Regions from separate parts of the Homo sapiens genome. Here region 2 is linked to region 1. Evidence: promoter capture Hi-C in human tissues and cell types (Jung and others, 2019). All regions are on one chromosome and are shown on one strand. The core of a region is centred on a gene start or on the middle of the fragment in contact, and the rest is flanking DNA. Distances in the headings are between cores, read along the strand shown. Region 1 holds the start of HFM1 (helicase for meiosis 1). Region 2 has its middle 40 kb from the start of HFM1.

Evidence for each region. The method cuts DNA at HindIII sites, captures the fragments that hold promoters and counts their contacts. A contact is called where the count stands out against the background at its distance.
Region 2: a contact is called between a fragment that was not itself captured here and the fragment with the promoter of HFM1 in region 1, in 2 of the 25 tissues and cell types used here (spleen and stomach).

Annotation. Positions count from the first base shown.
Region 1 is chr1:91,403,301-91,406,440 of GRCh38, forward strand. It overlaps HFM1 (helicase for meiosis 1), which reads right to left and starts at 1,537. Exons shown (of 39, transcript NM_001017975.6): 1 at 1,498-1,537. RefSeq lists a silencer at 1,132-1,511. The HindIII fragment of the contact is 20,002 bases long and covers 1-3,140 here.
Region 2 is chr1:91,443,242-91,446,451 of GRCh38, forward strand. No RefSeq gene overlaps it. Among named protein-coding and RNA genes, the nearest start is that of HFM1, 40 kb to the left of the region's middle. The HindIII fragment of the contact is 6,801 bases long and covers 1-3,210 here.

The sequences.
Region 1 (3,140 bases), core at 287-2,786:
TAGTGTCAAATAAAAATAATTTTCTGTTAATTTAGAAACTTAAAATTTGAGCCCCAATCTTCAACGTTCAGTTAAAAAATGTGAAATTTTTTTCTAGTTCAGGATTTATGTAAATAAAATCATGAAGGTTCTAAAAGATGATGAATTTGGCACTTTCATTATGTAAATCTTTTTTTAAAAAAGAAACACAGGTCCTAAAAGGGACCTTGCTACAGTTCAGTATGAGTTTGTGATGTGAGGGGATGCTATTTTAAATTAATTAAAGTTCTAGGTTTAGATTCAGATTTTTTAAGTTCCTATTATTTATTATTAAAGTTTTAGTTTCAGCACGTGGCACAAAATTAGATTGCCAAACACAATAAACAATATCATCCCAGGTAGTTTTAAGTGTCTGCTCTGCTATAATCACTGTTAAAATACTTAAGCTATTTTTGAGTCTACATAATTTGCGGTGCCGACCTTCTCTAGTTATATTAATGACAATCTCTAGTTAAATATTAATACAACTAGATACAATTAATCTTTAGTTATATTAATGACAATTCACCATTTTGTCTTCTGTAATCTTTACTTATTGTATAAAATTATTGTATACAATTATTGTATAAACTTATTGTATAAAATTGCAGGCCTATTACTTCTTACAATTTTTACTCAGAAACATACTCCTTATTTTAAAAGTACAGAAACTCAGATAAAAATTATTGATTTGCTAGAAATTTTTGTGAGTTAAGGAAGAAGTAGGGACCAACATTTACGGGAATAACCGACCGTCACAAATAACTGCAGAGAATCTGACAAAGAAGGAAAAATCAACGGGAACAAATTACTCCGAGGCTCGGCCTGGGAAAGGACCATACAATTGTCGGAGCCCCAGATCTCACCCCCTCTCCCCAGGCACCAACAGGGCTGGCTGGAAGGGTCCGGCTGGGGACCGAATCAGCACCTAAAGCAAAATAACAGCTCTGTGGATTTCCTAAGGAGAATATCCTAAATCCAAGGCAGAGGCCTTAGGGCCCCGAGAGTGGCACAAGAACGGGGCGCTGGGGCGCGTCACTCCACCCCCCGGGTCCCGTTTCCTCCCACCGCTGTGAAACCCGCGGCTCAGACAGATGGGTACGTCCCCCCCAGCGCTCGCTCAGGGGGCGCCACACACCGGAACACAAGACACAGGAACCGAACACCAATCAGCCGACTTTAGGGGCGGGCCGGACGCCCAGCCGGTCCCACCTCGCGGGGAGCTGGGCCCGCCCTGCGCCCGAGCGCGCCGCAGGCCTCACCGCTTTCTGACTGGAAATGCGGCTGAGGCGCTGGCGCGGGCCGGCGGCCTGGAGACGCCTGGTGACCAACAACTCGCCGCGCCCGTCCGCTGCCTGCCCGGCAGACGGCTCTAGAGATCGACCGCTGCCCGGACGGCTCGGCTGGGTCCCCACTTCCCCGCGGGCGTCGGGCCCCCGTCCCCACCTTCCCCGCGGGCGTCCGGGCCCCTCTCCTCACCTCCCTGCGGACAGCTCCTAGGCCAGTCGAGCGCCGATTTATCAGCCCCTCTGAGGACCGCCAAGCCTGGCTAAGCCGAGCTCCAAGCAATGGATCGCCCAAGCCCCCAACCTCTCCCTTCCTACCTTTTTTTCTCCGAAAGTTTATAACTGGTTTTGAATATATCTCTTGCAGTTTACTGTGTCTATTCTCTTTAAATACAGCTCCTAATCCTGGGTTCTAAGGGTCTACTAAATGGTACCCTTTCCCTAAGCTAACCTGCTTCTCTACCCCCACAACCACCACTCCACAAACATACCCCAACCTGCCTTTCTCATCAAAGTTAGCCAGGCCTCAGCTCTGGGACTTCCGGTCTCTTCGTACCTAAAAAGTGTTTTACCTATATTATTTATAAAATATCACAGTGGCACTCATGAGGTCGGTATTACTGGGGAACTTGATTCAGAAATAAAGTTAAATTTCAGAAATAAATATTCTAAAACACAATGATATTTAAATGTGTTTAGCCAACATGAATTTATAAAAACAGGGCAATAATGTGTTCTTAGGCTGTAAACATGAACAAACTATAAATTATCCTTTTAAGTTTCTTTAGAATTGTCCTCTGAAGATTTGGCAGGGAATGTTTTGTAGATGATAAAATAGCAACGAATCAATGATGCTTTTCTTACAGAGACATTTATCTTTCCTTTGGAAACCCCCACCTGTGACATCTAGGGCCAACCTACTGCTGTCTGACTGCCCTATTCCTGTTCTCTTTTTTCTTGCAGTTCTACTGTTCATTAGCTATATGACCTTGGAAAAGACCCAACCTTTAAGTCTTAATTCTGCATCCTCAGTGATACTCATAAGCTCTAACTCCTAGATACTGCTGCAAGGGTTAAATAAAATAATATTTGCAGTAGTCCTACCACACAGTAAATGCTCATGAATATTAATTTCTTTCACCTTCTCTGAAATGTAAAATTATTCCAGTAATTGGGTGAGCCAGTTATTTGGATACTGATAAAATAACAAGTCTTTGTCTCTTGGAGAAAATAACATTTTGACTGCATAAACTATTCTTAATAGAAAGGTTGAATTATCATTCCTCTCAAAAATACTGGAGAGGAAAGTTACTTTCCATAGACTGCATAGAGGAAAATAACGAAACAGTGCATTTGTTATAGTGAACCCCTCAATGTGTTGAAATTCATACATTGAATTCTAACCCCCGATGTGATGATATTTGAACGTGGGACTTTTGTGAGGTAATTAACTCAAAAGGGTAGAGCCTTCATGAGTAGGATTGTGCCCTTTTAAGAGGCCAGAGAGTTAGCTCGCTCTTTTCCTACCATGTGAGGATACAGGAGGACGGTATCTGCAAGCCAGGAAGGAGGCCCTCGCCAAATACCGGATCTGCCTGCACTGTGATCTTGGACTTCTCAGGCACCAAAATTGTGACAAATGTTTGTTGTTTAAGCCACCCAGCCTATGGTAATTTGTTATAGCAGCTTGAACTAAGATAGGGTTTGAGTGATAGAATTGTAGAATTCAGCAACAGGCAGGTACAGGGGAGTCTTACTGTCAAAGCACACAGTAGCAAATGGCCACCATGTTCATAAACAAAAACATTCATTCATTCACTCACTCATTTATTCAAG
Region 2 (3,210 bases), core at 644-3,143, 40 kb after region 1:
ATCAAATTAATGAAATAAAGCGAGAAGAGAAGTTTAGAGAAAAAAGACTAAAAAGAAATGAACAAATCCTCCAAGAAATATGGGACTATGTGAAAAGACCAAATCTATGTTTGACTGGTGTACCTGAAAGTGATGGGGAGAATGGAGCCAAGTTGGAAAACACTCTTCAGGATATTATCCAGGAGAACTTCCCCAACCTAGTTAGGCAGGCCAACATTTAAACTGAGGAAATACAGAGAACACCACAGAGATACTCCTTTAGAAGAGCAACCCCAAGACACATAATTGTCAGATTCACCAAGGATGAAATGAAGGAAAAAATGTTAAGGGCAGCCAGAGAGAAAGGTTGGGTTACTCACAAAAGGAAGCCCATCAGACTAACAGCAGATCTCTCGGCAGAAACTCTACAAGCCAGAAGAGAGTGGGGGCCAATATTCAACATTCTTAAAGAAAAAAATTTTCAACCCAGAATTTCATACACAGCCAAACTAAGCTTCATAAGTGAAGGAGAAATAAAATACTTTACAGACAAGCAAATGCTGAGAGATTTTTGTCACCACGAGGCCTGCCTTACAAGAGCTCCTGAAGGAAGCAATAAACATGAAAAGGAACAACTGGTACCAGCCACTGCAAAAACATGCCAAATTGTAAAGACCATCGATGCTAGGAAGAAACTGCATCAACTAATGGTCTAAATAACCAGCTAACATCATAATGACAGGATCAAATTCACACATAACAATATTAACCTTAAATGTAAATGGGCTAAATGCTCCAATTAAAAGACACAGACTGGCAAATTGGATAAAGAGTTAAGACCCATCAGTGTGCTGTATTCAGGAGACCCATCTCACGTACAGAGACAGATATAGGCTCAAAATAAAGGAATTCAGGAAGATCTACCAAGCAAATGGAAAGCAAAAAAAAAAAAAAAAAAAAAAAAAAGCAGGGGTTGCAATCCTAGTTTCTGATATAACAGACTTTAAACCAACAAAGATCAAAAGAGACAAAGAAAGCCATTACATAATGGTAAAGGGATCAATTCAACAAGAAGAGCTAACTATCCTAAATATATATGCACCCATACAGGAGCACCCAGATTCATAAAGCAAGTCCTTAGAGACTTACGGAGAGACTTAGACTCCCACACAATAATAGTGGGAAACTTTAACACCCCACTGTCAATATTAGACAGATCAACAAGACAGAAGGTTAACAAGGATATCCAGGAGTTGAACTCAGCTCTGCACCAAGCAAACCTAATAGACATCTACAGAATCGCAACCCCAAATCAACAGAATATACATTCTTGTCAGCACCACATCACACTTATTCCAAAATTGACCACATAGTTGGAAGTTAAGGACTCCTCAGCCAATGTAAAAGAACAGAAATTATAACAAACTGTCTCTCAGACCACAGTGCAATCAAATTAGAACTTGGGATTAAGAAACTCACTCAAAACCGCTCAACTACATGGAAACTGAACAACCTGCTCCTAAATGACTACTGGGTAAATAATGAAATGAAGGCGGAAATAAAGATGTTCTTTGAAACCAATGAGAACAAAGATGCAATGTACCAGAATCTCTGGGACACATTTAAAGCAGTGTGTAGAGGGAAATTTGTAGCACTAAATGCCCACAAGAGAAAGCAGGAAAGATCTAAAATTGACACCCTAACATCACAATTAAAAGAAGTAGAGAAGCAAGAGCAAACACATTCAAAAGCTAGCAGAAGGCAAGAAATAACTAAGATCAGAGCAGAACTGAAGGAAAGAGAGACACAAAAAACCCTTCAAAAAATCAATGAATCCAGGAGCTGGTTTTCTGAAAAGATCAACAAAATAGATAGACCACTAGCAAGACTAATAAAGAAGAAAAGAGACAAGAATCAAATAGATGCAATAAAAAATTATAAAGGGGATATCACCACCAATCCCACAGAAATACAAACTACCATCAGAGAATACTATAAACACCTCTATGCAAATAAACTAGAAAACCTAGAAGAAATGGATAAATTCCTCGACACATTCACCCTCCCAAGACTAAACCAGAAAGAAGTTGAATCTCTGAATAGACCAATAACAGGCTCTGAAATTGAGGCAATAATCAATAGCCTACCAACAAAAAAAGTCCACTACCAGATGGATTCACAGCCGAATCCCACCAGAGGTACAAAGAGGAGCTGGAACCATTCCTTCTGAAACTATTCCAATCAATAGAAAAAGAGGGAATCCTCCCTAACTCATTTCATGAGGCCAGCATCATCCTGATACCAAAGCCTGGCAGAGACACAACAAAAAAAGAGAATTTTAGACCAATATCCCTGATGAACATTGATGCAAAAATCCTCAATAAAATACTGGCAAACTGAATCCAGCAGCACATCAAAAAGCTTGTCCACCATGATCAAGTGGGCTTCATCCCTGGGATGCAAGGCTGGTTCAACATACAAAAATCAATAAATGTAATCCAACATATAAACAGAACCAAAGACAAAAACCACATGATTATCTCAATAGATGCAGAAAAGGCCTTTGACAAAATTCAACAACACTTCATGCTAAAAACTCTCAATAAATTAGGTATTGGTGGGACGTATCTCAAAATAATAAGAGCTATCTATGACAAACCCACAGCCAATATCATACTGAATGGCAAAAACTGGAAGCATTCCCTTTGAAAACTGGCAAAAGACAGTGATGCCCTCTCTCACCACTCCTATTCAACATAGTGTTGGAAGTTCTGGCCAGGGCAATCAGGCAGGAGAAAGAAATAAAGGGTATTCAATTAGGAAAAGAGGAAGTCAAATTGTTCCTGTTTGCAGACGACATGATTGTATATTTAGAAAACCCCATCGTCCCAGCCCAAAATCTCCTTAAGCTGATAAGCAACTTCAGCAAAGTCTCAGGATACAAAATCAACATGCAAAAATCACAAGCATTCCCATACACCAATAACAGACAAACAGAGAGCAAAATCCCGAGTGAACTCCCATTCACAATTGCTATAAAAAGAATAAAATACCTAGGAATCCAACTTACAAGGGATGTGAAGGCCCTCTTCAATAAGAACTACAAACCACTGCTCAATGAAATAAAGGAGGACACAAACAAATGGAAGAACATTCCATGCTCATGGATAGGAAGAATCAATATCAGGAAAATGGCCATACTGCCCAAGGTAATTTATAGATTCAATGCCA